3 separate regions of the Homo sapiens genome follow, and all the other regions are linked to region 1. The links are contacts of gene promoters, found by promoter capture Hi-C in blood cells and fetal thymus (Javierre and others, 2016). All regions are on one chromosome and are shown on one strand. The core of a region is centred on a gene start or on the middle of the fragment in contact, and the rest is flanking DNA. Distances in the headings are between cores, read along the strand shown. Region 1 holds the start of RMND1 (required for meiotic nuclear division 1 homolog). Region 2 holds the start of MTRF1L (mitochondrial translation release factor 1 like). Region 3 overlaps PCMT1 (protein-L-isoaspartate (D-aspartate) O-methyltransferase).

The links. Contacts are between HindIII fragments. The CHiCAGO score rates a contact against its expected background, and 5 or more counts as called.
Region 2: a contact is called between the fragment with the promoter of MTRF1L here and the fragment with the promoter of RMND1 in region 1, in 2 of 17 cell types (non-activated CD4 T cells and naive CD8 T cells). The highest score is 5.8, in non-activated CD4 T cells.
Region 3: a fragment that was not itself captured here is called in contact with the fragment with the promoter of RMND1 in region 1 in 1 of 17 cell types (fetal thymus); the score reaches 5.5 in fetal thymus.

Annotation. Positions count from the first base shown.
Region 1 is chr6:151,450,628-151,454,462 of GRCh38, reverse strand. RMND1 (required for meiotic nuclear division 1 homolog) reads left to right here and starts at 2,337. Exons shown (of 12, transcript NM_017909.4): 1 at 2,337-2,447. DCPH1 (damage control phosphatase 1) reads right to left here and starts at 1,997. Exons shown (of 5, transcript NM_024573.3): 1 at 1,877-1,997. The coding sequence starts at 1,917. RefSeq lists a silencer at 1,640-1,759 and enhancers at 1,920-2,369, 2,560-2,609. The HindIII fragment of the contact is 8,083 bases long and covers 717-3,835 here.
Region 2 is chr6:153,000,907-153,004,285 of GRCh38, reverse strand. It overlaps MTRF1L (mitochondrial translation release factor 1 like), which reads left to right and starts at 1,577. Exons shown (of 7, transcript NM_019041.7): 1 at 1,577-1,859. The coding sequence starts at 1,601. RefSeq lists enhancers at 1,220-1,329, 420-1,420 and silencers at 1,650-1,759, 1,770-1,829. The HindIII fragment of the contact is 13,608 bases long and covers 1-3,379 here.
Region 3 is chr6:149,749,923-149,753,712 of GRCh38, reverse strand. It overlaps PCMT1 (protein-L-isoaspartate (D-aspartate) O-methyltransferase), which reads right to left. Exons shown (of 8, transcript NM_001360452.2): 1 at 3,757-3,790. Among named protein-coding and RNA genes, the nearest start is that of PCMT1, 2.1 kb to the right of the region's middle. RefSeq lists enhancers at 2,036-2,538, 2,539-3,041 and silencers at 3,146-3,440, 3,366-3,602. The HindIII fragment of the contact is 3,257 bases long and covers 40-3,296 here.

The sequences.
Region 1 (3,835 bases), core at 1,088-3,587:
TATATTAAACTCCTCATACAACTATTAAAAGATAGACAAGTATTGTATGATTACTATATTAAGACATAAGAAAACCTGGAAAATTCGCTGGTATGTCATGGAAGCCAAACTGTCTTGGTGCCTCTAATCCCAGATTCTCCCATGGAGTCTGTTTAATCATTCTTATCTTTCCTATTCTATTGCTTTTATTTTCCTAAATCAGAAACTCGCTTAGCAAAGTGATAGGATAGGGAATGGATTAGCTTAGAAATCAAACAGGCTCTTGTCCCAGGTCTACTATCTGCTAAGTCACCTGCTTAGAAAGATGAATGAAGCAATGCATCTAAAACCACCTAAAGGGTCTAATGTGCTTGAACAACATAAAGAATTAAAGGTACTTTTAAGCCTGTTTCTCTCCATTCTGTCTATTTTCTAAGTCAATTTTAATTATTTTCAAAAATTTTCCCCTTCTCTGCCTTCTCTATCTGCACAATGGACTCCTTCCATCCTATTCTGCCCCTAAGCAAATGAAGGCGTGCTACTGTCTCTTCCCACTCAAAAAATCAGAGATTTTATAGAAGTGTTCAAGAATGAAGCAAGCTGGAGATGAAGAAAAACTTATACCTGCATTAAAAAATTAAAGATATTCTTGATTTTATTCATACAAAACCCAAGATTTACAGATTATCATTTTATATCATTCTAAGGAAATACATGATACAGGTAGAAAAAAAGCTTTATTTGGTGGAGAAATTCTGTGCAGTTTTAAATATAGAGCACAGAGCTTAGCTGACTAGTGTTTTTATCTCCAGATCACAGGAGACAATTGTTAAATTACTAGATTGTAACTTGGGTATTTCTTCAAAAGGTTTCCTCAAATGATAGCTATAGAACTTTAAGAAAAAAACTGCACACACTTTCCGACTCTGTGGTGCTTTCAGTACCACCCAAAACAGTGATTAGGTTTTAATGCGCATAATAACTACGTTGATCAGAATTTAATTTTTAAAAATCATTAATAAAAGAAATCACTAATACCTCAGAGGGTGAGCAGGAACATTAAATCAACTGTCACTTGAATTTTCCCAGGCAGTAGGTATAGTAAGTCCTTTTTTGAGATTTTACTTTAATTGGAAAGTATTACTGTTTTCCTAACTACTACATTTCCTGCACCTCTGGAACAAAGTCTCTGGCCAGGACTGGAGTGAGGCCAGAAGCCCTAGGGCGCAAAATTGAAGGAGATACTCTCTATACTTGCATGACCTGAAACAGTGACTGCCTCAATTTGGGGCCATTGGCGCCACTTTGTTGGCCTCAACCTACTTTCTGCCCAGGTTTATTTTCTTCAAAGTGTTCTCGTCTTTTGCAATATTTTGAAGTAAGGACAAATTTCAAATATAAATTTGGCCATTCGATTTATGCAAATGGATGTTATTTGCACGGTCACCCACAACTTTACCCAAGAATCAGTAGCGTGACGACTATAAAGCAAAAAACTAGACAGTTCTTACTGTGAGATTACGATTTGATCAACAACAGGGAGAAACCCGTTTCTTAATAGCGCTGAGATCCCCAACTCTTACGCAGAATTTTAACGCCCCCAAAGCGCGTCTATTAAAGTGAATAAATAAAAAGTGACCGCCAGGAACAGACCGCGAAGCTGACCCCTGTCCTGATCCTTACGAGCAGCCGCCGCGGGCAGGCTCCCTCCCCGGGGCCGCCTCCCTTCGCCTCCGAGCCAGTCCGCGAAACCCGCAAAGGCGCCCCGGAAAGCCGCGCCCGGCGGCGGGACTCGAACGCAGCCCACCGGGGAGCGGGCGCCCTCCGCTTAGTCCCCACAGGCTCCCGGCGAGGCCCGGCTTTCCGCAAAAGTGGGGAGGAGAAAAGCTAGACTAACCCCACGTCCTGTCCTGAGAGAGACGCCGGGACGACAGCCATCACTTTCCGCGATCCCGGCCGCAAAGCTCGGCTGTTCAATCGCCGCAGAAACAGAGGCGGTACCGCCGCGAAGGAGGAGCTGAGAATGGGGGTGGTGTGGCTTTAAAAAAAAAGTGCTTTTGAATAAAGAAACTTTATTTGGTGCCCGATCAAACGGCAAACAGTGGCTCGCCAGAAGACCCAATCTTCCGGGGACGAAGGCGGGGCCAGCGGAGGGCGACTAGAGGAGCGGATATGGAAGCGAGCGAAAGCCGGAAGCAGGCAAGGGACCGGGAGGTCCCAGGGCCTAGGGAGCGGAAGAGGTCGCGGCGACGCGGCTCACGTGGTCAGACAGTCACGTGGCCCGAGTTTCTCCCGCTAAGTGGGACCAGAGTTCAGTGCGGCTGCGCAGTAGCGGGGGTGGGCGGGAGCGCCCTTCCAGGAGATGGGTTGGCTGCAGTAGTGAGAGGCTGGGGGTGCGGCTCTTTCCCTGCAGTCCTGCCGAGGAAGCGTGCGTCCCTGGCGCTTCCTTCTTCTCTTCCGGCGGAGAGGTTAGTGTATTGCCTTTTCTTTAGCAGCTCGAGTGGTCCGGCTTGGAGGTCTGCGCCCTGGCTCCTGGCCGCCCGGAACGTGTACAGTTACGGGTTACGCCAGTGCGGCTGTGACCCTTTGCCTCTTACCGTGATCTTTGGTCAGCTTAGCTGGGAGTAAAAAGCACTCAATTAATGAACCCTTTTTTTGAGCCAGTGCACCGCGGTAACTGTAGAAATCGATAAAATAATTTTGAGTTTGAGGAATTGAACGGCATACTCCCAAAGATGAGCGCCACTTAGCTCTCGAATCGTAGCCTAGCTGTAATCGATTTTCTTAATTGGTGTAATTGTTCTCTAAAAGTTGAAATGTGCCCGGGAACTGAGTAACTGCCTTGTATTTCATTTTAAAAATTCGATCGAATGCCTACTATGTGCTGGGCGCTATTGTCAGGAGATATAATAGGAAAAAACACAAATCCGTATCCTCAGGGAGCTTCCATTCTGGAAGGAAGACACAAAAATCTGCCCTTTCCTCTTATTTTTTTCCTTTAGCTTTGTGTCTCACGTATTTTACTGATTTACCTCGTTTTGTCTGTCACTCCCAATGCAAGGTTCAAAAGATTCAAAAGATAGGATTTTTGTCTATTTTATTTTCAGCTGTATTGTCAGCAACTAGGACAATACCTGGCACATGATAAGAACTGAGTTCGTTTGCAGTATGAATTAATAAACTAAAAATTAAAGGTGTGCAAGTGATGTTAAACAATGGAGAAATGCAAAGTGGAGGAAGATAAGAGAATGGATGCTGGTTGTGTTTTTTTTTTTTTTTTTTTTTATTGATCATTCTTGGGTGTTTCTCGCAGAGGGGGATTTGGCAGGGTCATAGGACAATAGTGGAGGGAAGGTCAGCAGATAAACAAGTGCACAAAGGTCTCTGGTTTTCCTAGGCAGAGGACCCTGCGGCCTTCCGCAGTGTTTGTGTCCCTGGGTACTTGAGATTAGGGAGTGGTGATGACTCTTAACCAGCACGCTGCCTTCAAGCATCTGTTTAACAAAGCACATCTTGCACCGCCCTTAATCCATTCAACTCTGAGTGGACACAGCACATGTTTCAGAGAGCACAGGGTTGGGGGTAAGGTCACCGATTAGCAGGATCCCAAGGCAGAAGAATTTTTCTTAGTATGGAACAAAATGAAAAGTCTCCCATGTCTACTTCTTTCTACACAGACACGGCAACCATCCGATTTCTCAATCTTTTCCCCCCCTTTCCCCCCTTTCTATTACACAAAACCGCCATTGTCATCCCGTCCCGTTCTCAATGAGCTGTTGAGTACACCTCCCAGACGGGGTGGTGGCCGGGCAGAGGGGCTCCTCACATCCCAGTAGGGGCGGCCGGGCAGAGGCGC
Region 2 (3,379 bases), core at 328-2,827, 1.6 Mb before region 1:
ATAAAATATATTGTTGAAATGACTTATGTTCTGAGAACTCAACTGAGAGATATACCATGTTGAGTTCAAGTGATTCTCACCATTTCCATGGTTAAGATAAATTCAAAGTTAAGTTCAGACTTGGGAAACAATTGTTCTAATAGAGATAAAAACATCCTGATCAGTCCTGTTCTATCCTCAGATCAGGATTAAAATAAAATGGGTTTCAACAGCAGAACGATTGTATAAAGTTGTGTAGCTTGAATACACAAAGTGAAAAGAACTGAGATAATTAGGTGGAGCCTTTAAGTAGCAAAAAACTATTTTTGCTTCCTGATGTTTGAAGAGTCATTTCATTCTTCCACTCACTCTGCATTTGTTATCGTGCTAAGAGATGAAAAGAGAGAGGCAATGCAAACGTTATTTTCTAAGAATGTTTATACTTAACAGTTTCGATTAGATGACCTAAGGATATTTTAACCTTGATAAGGGTTCCCATTTTTTACCATTTTATTTTTTATGAATAAATTAGAAGTTTCGTACTTCTAATATATCACCTCTCTCAACAGTGAAATACCACTTAGTAGACGCTGCCCAAACCAGTTAGGTAGTGGCAGTTCTCAGATTGAGCGTTTAGCCCTTGCATTCCCAGGACTGTCTTGGTTGTGTTTATTCCCTCATATTTATTTCTCCGTTGAGCTGTGAACAGGTCTTTTGAAAAGTGCAAAGCATTGTGCCAATAAATGTCGGTATTGCTGGCACCTATCCGCTACCAGTTCTTTGGAAAGGGATGAGGGTTGGACTCCTGGAGGCAGATATCTGAAGGCTTTGTTGGGCTGTAGGTTGCTGTAACACGGAATCACTCCACCTCTTTAAAAAGCTGACGATAAGTGGGACTAAGTGAAAATGAATGGGCAGGTGAATAATAAAGTCCTTTGAAAGCAAGTAAATGACGCGGCAGATGAAGGGCACGCACGTCTATTGTGCAAATTCATTCAGTGGTTATCTCATAATACACTTATCAAGTCCTTATTACCACGAACCTCACCCACCGTGGACAAGAGAAACATAAGCAGGAAAAAAGGAGGAGGAATAAACACACGCCTGTCCATAATAAAACTCGCTCTTGAAGACTCAGCGGCAGCCCTGCACCGGAGACTGACGACTTGCGCGGCTGTGACCTCCGCCCTGCAGCGGACCCTCGACTGCCCTGCACTGCGGCTCTGGAGGCCCCGACTCAGTGCATGGGAAAGAAATCCTCACTATCAGAAAACAGAGGGGCAATCTGCTGCTCTCCCTTTCCGGCCAAACACGTCACCCATCAACCGGATACCTACCAAGAGGCTTTCAGAGGAGGCGCCCAAGGTCTCCCAGGCCCGCCCCTCCCCAATCACGCTCCGCTCAGCCCCCTCAACTTTTGGCCTCCGGGAAGTTCGCAGCGTTCTCACGCTTGGCAGGAAGTTCCCGCCAAGGCTTCCGGAAAATCCTTTAAAAAGCAACGCTTGCGCTGGGCGGGGCTTGGTGCGCTCTCACCCTTATCTCCAAATTCTGGGTGTTGTCGCGAGGGCTGCTGTGTCCGGAACTTCCGGTTCCGGTCAGGGTCCGCGATCTCGGACTAAGGATGCGGTCCCGGGTTCTGTGGGGCGCTGCCCGGTGGCTCTGGCCCCGCCGGGCCGTTGGCCCAGCCCGCCGGCCCCTGAGCTCCGGTAGCCCGCCGCTGGAGGAGCTGTTCACCCGGGGCGGGCCCTTGCGGACCTTCCTCGAGCGCCAGGCGGGGTCTGAAGCCCATTTGAAGGTCAGGAGGCCCGAGTTGCTGGCGGTGATCAAACTGCTGAACGAGAAGGAGCGGGAGCTGCGGGAGACTGAGCACTTGCTGCACGGTAAGGGTCGGGCCCGGGGGAGAGGCGTCAGAGCACATTCTTGACTCTTCGTTTGACTTTTCCACTGCCCACACTACCCGAGTTTGAAACTCTTTACTCACTTGCAGCCGTTTTTATTTTGGATCAGAGGTCAGGACATCATTACGTGCTGTGATCCCATCCTCTCCTGTGGGCTCTCTTGTGCTCCTTTGCCACGGCGCTCTGCCGCCTTTTACATGCTTATTAGTTGTGGACTCGGGCAAGAGCTCATTAGCTCAGCAAGGATAAATAAGGCACTGTCCCTGTGATGGGCTCCACAGCGGTGTTTCTCAAAGTGTGGTGTGGAGACCCATTTGCAGTAGTATCAGGGCAGTGCTTGTTAATAGCAGACTTAGGACTCAGAATCTCAGACCTATACGTGGGTAAAGGTACTAAATTGGGAAATTCAGTATGGCCTAAGTATAGAATAGGTGGGAGATGATGTCATAGAAACATGAAGCCAGAAAAATAGTTAAGAACCTTGCAAGACAAAGAATTTGGATTTATTTTTTATAGACCATGGAAAGTTAGCAAATGTTTTTAAGCAGAGAATTCACGTCTTTGTAAAGAAAAGTTAATGGTGGCATGCGCTGAGGATAAATTGGAGTATTCTCCAGAAACGCTGGTGGCTGACAGGCCAGGGAGGAGGCAGTTGAAACAATCCAAAGAAGAAATGGTGATAGGCATAGTTCTGACTCACAAAACATTTTGAGAAACAAGTTAGGATTTAGTGGCTTATGCCCTGAGAAGGATGAGGGAGAGAGTTAGTTCTAAGAAAAGTCTTAGGTTTCTGGCTTCAGCACGAGTGGTACTGTTAATTAAGATGAAAGTATAAAAGTTGGACCGAATTTTTTAAAAAGATGAGTTTTGCATTGAATGCCATATTAAGTTAAAAATACCTGTGAAAAGGAATTCCAATAAAGATATCTGTACTAGTCTAGGAGAAAAAATTACTGACATAGGAGAAAAATTGAGCCCAAATAATCATATGAGAGCTCTCGAGATATACAGTACGTGGTAAATTAAACCTTAGAAGTAGATGAGAACACTCAGGGAAAATGTGTTAAGATAGAAACAAGTCTAACAAGGCCAGAAATACACAGTATTTGAGGAGCAGGCAGAGAAGAAGGCTATAAAAGGTCAAGAAAAAAACAGCCAGAGCTTTGTGACCCTGAAGTAGATAAATAAATGAAGCTGTAGAAGCCAATAGAAAATTTCAAGAAGTAAGAGATCCTTGGCCAGGCGTGGTGGCTCACGCCTCTAATTCCAGCACTTTGAGAGGCTCAGGTGGGCCGATCACTTGAGCCCAGGAGTTCGAGACCAGCCTGGGTAACATGGCAAAACCCTGTCTCTACAAACAATGCAAAATTAGCTGGGCATGGTGGTGCGTGCCTGTGGTCCCAGCTACTTGAGAGGCTGAGGTGGGAGAATCGCTTGAACCCGGGAGGTGGAGGTTGCAGTGAGCCAAGATGGTGCCACTGCATTCCAGCCTGGGTGACAGC
Region 3 (3,790 bases), core at 419-2,918, 1.7 Mb after region 1:
AAAGGAAAACAAAATATTCTTAACAAATTATATTAAGCTTCATTTCTTAAAAACAAAACAAAACAAAACAAAAAAAACTATTGGCCAGGTGTGGTGGATCATGCCTGTAATCCCAGCACTTTGGGAGGCTGAGGCAGGCAGATCACCTGAGGTTGGGAATTCAAGACCAGCTGACCAACATGGAGAAACCTTGTCTCTACTAAAAATACAAAATTAGCTGGGTGTGGTGGCGCCTGCCTGTAATCCCAGCTACTCGGGAGGCTGAGGCCAGAGAATTGCTTGAACCTGGGAAGCAGAGGTTGTGGTGAGCTGAGATCGTGCCATTGCACTCCAGCCTGGGCAATAAGAGCGAAACTCTGTCTCAAAAAAAAAAAACCATTAAAAATGTAATTTCCTTCCCCTTCTAGTAAGCAGGCCCCTTTTCATTTCAACATCAACACAATCACATTTTTATATTTTTCTAAGATTTCAATTAAAAGCCTTTAATTTAGGAAGAATATACACAGTAGAATAATGAGGAAGGAAGGCAATATTTTCAAATTTTATGTCAATTACAATTTTCACATGAGCAAGTATTACTTTTATAATAAGCTAATAAAAAGAAATCTATTAGCTAGAATTACCTCAGCAAGAAGTTGAAACTAAAGTTGCACAAGTGTTACAAAAGAGGCTAAACAACTATTCTACTCTAATTTCCTCTTACCAATCATAAATCTAGTATAAAACTATTTGCAAAATCAACATCTATGTATATTAAATATTCCTTATTAAATTTCCTGACAGAAAAACATCCTTAGAAATTTCAGCTAAGAACAGTAATGCAATACATTAAAGTGATTATGAAACCACCGGGAAAAGATCTATCTAGTCTTGGCTTACCACAAATTTGGCCCAAAAAAGGAGAGACTTTAAGAGCCTGATTGATTACAAATTTCTGCCACAGCCAAGTGCCTACTATGATAACCTACCGGTGGAAAATTACTTAATCACAATTTGTGTACAAAATGTTTCAGGTACATATACTGCAATAGAAGGCACTGAGATCATGTTAAGGGATTTCGTAAAAAATATTTACAACATATTGAGCTTATGTGCCATCCATGAGAACCCAAATCATACTTCATACTACTGTTGTAGCACATAAATGTCCATTTCCAATCAAGCATCATTCCATAAAATGAACCTGACAATGCTTGACAAAATATTGACATCTAGGCTGGGCGTGGTGGCTCACACCTGTAATTCAAGCACTTTGGGAGGCCGAGGCAGGCAGATCACCTTAGGTCAAGAGTTTGAGACCAGCCTGGCCAACATAGTGAAACCCCGTTTCTACTAAAAATACTAAAAATTAGCCAGGCGTGGTAGTGGGTGCCTGTAATCCCAGCTACTCGGGAGGCTGAGGCAGAAGAATCGCTTGAACCCAGGAGGCAGAGGTTGCAGTGAGCCAAGATCACGCCATTGCACTCCAGCTTGGGAAACAAGAGCAAAACTCTGTCTCAAAAAAAAAAAATGTTGACATCTAAACATTCACCATGGCCAGGTGCGGTGGCTCACTCTTGTAATCCCAAAATTTTGGGAGCCTGAGTCCAACAAATTGCTTGAGTCCAGGAGTTCAAGACCAGCCTGGGCAACATAGCAAGACCCCATCTCATAAACTACCAAAAAAAAAAAAAAAACCCTAAAAATTAGCCTGGTATGGTGGCACCACTGTACTCAGGAGGCTGAAGTGGGAAAATCGCTTGAGCACAGAAAGCAGGGGTTGCAGTGAGCCGAGCTCACACCACTGCACTCCAACCTGGGTGACAGTGAAACCCTGTCTAAAAAAAAAAAATAATCAACATTCTCTCTTACCAAACACTAAAGACTCAGTTTCCACATTAAGTATTGTCCCCCCACCAAAAAAAAATCCAAAATGACTAATATATCAAGTACCGGCCTGGCGCGGTGGCTCACGCCTATAATCCCAGCACTTTGGGAGGCCGAGGTGGGCAGATCATGAAGTCAGGAGTTCGACATCAGCCTGGCCAACATAGTGAAACCCCTTCTCTACTAAAAATACAAAAATTAGCCAGGCGTGCTGGCAGGCGCCTGTAGTCCCAGCCACTCAGGAGGCTGAGACAGGACAATTGTTTGAACCTGGGAGGCGGAGGTTGCAGTGAGCTAAGACCGCGCCATTGCACTCCAGTCTGGGCTACAGAGGGAGTCTCTGTCTCAAAAAAAAAAAAAAAAAAAAAAAGTACCAACCATGTGCCAAACAGTACTCCTAATTTCTCTCAATTACCTTTGTCTGTCTAGCACAGATTTAGGCATATAACGGACATTTAATGGGCATTTATGAAAAAAAGGGATGACTGTTAAATTCTTAGAGAAAATTCAAAAAAAAATTTTTTTTTTGAGGCGGAGTTTCCTCCCTTGTTGCCCAGGCTGGAGTGCAGTGGCAAGATCTTGGCTCACTGCAACCTCCCCGTCCCGGGTTCACGCGATTCTCCTGCCTCAGCCTCACAAGTAGCTGGGATTACAGGCAGGCACCACCACGCCCGGCTAATTTTTGTATTTTTAGTAGAGATGGGGTTTCACCATGTCGGCCTGGCTGGTCTCGAACTCCTGAACTCAGGTAATCCACCCGCCTCGGCCTCCCAAAGTGCTGGCATTACAGGCGTGAGCCAATGAGCCCGGCCAAAAAAAATTTTTTTTAATGGTGCCAGCCGTTAAGGAAATTACAAATCGAGTTGAGAAATAAGACAAACACATGAAAAGCTAAGTAACACAGGACAATTAAAAATACCATGTGACAAGATATGATTACTGCATAGTAGCGAATAATGCTATAAATTCTGACCAGTGAGTTTATTATAGACTGCGGCCCTTGTAGTCTCCCAACAAAACGGGGACGCTATATTTCGATTTAAAAAAAGAAAGTGACACAGCACTCATCCTATCCTAAAATTATCATCAGAAGAAGGAATACAGTAACTAAGGAGAGTGATATAAAGAAACTCCACATAAGGTTTTTAAAGCCTATGGTAGCCCTGAAAAAAGTTAGAACATCAGACACACAACCCTCTGCTGATCCAGGACCTGCAAAGGCTCCTGAAATACAAGTCTCTCAGGAACAGCATCCCCTGTTCTTTCTCCGCCCCGCACGGAGCTTTCCACTGGACAGCCGCCCGAGAAATTTCTCCCAGCATCTGCAATGGCAATACTCTCATCTTCCTCCCCTCGCCTGTATCAGACGGTGGCATCTCCCTCCAGGGGAAAAAACGGAGGGCGGGGGAGGCTGCATAAGAGGGAAAGCTTGCAGCGAGGTTGATTATGGAGGAGGAAGGTGAGAAAAATGCAGGGGACGAGGGTGGGGTCTCCTGAGCGCCAGCCCACTCTCCATAAGGCCTAGCCCACACGCTCCCACCCCGAAGGCACGCCCCTCACAAGCCGGACCCGGACGCGGACCTGAGTGACAGCAGCATCACCTGTACTGCACTCCCTCCCCCAGGGCCTGCAGGGAGACGACTGCCCCTGCCCCCACCAGCAGCGGCCCCTGGCTCTTTCTCTCCCCTTCCAGTCCACGTCGTCGACGAGTGACAGGTCCCGAGGGAGGCGACTGCAAGCGCACGCCGTTCGGGACTACCGGGGCAACTCTGCGCCGAAGCCCTCCAACAGGCGCGCGGGGACAGACAGAACGTTCCGGACGGCCCAGGGGGACCCGGTCCAGGCCCAGCCTGCCCCAGCTGCCCTACAACGGGCGGAGGTGGCACTTACTGCGGAGATTGTGGATTAGCTCCGAGTGGCTGGC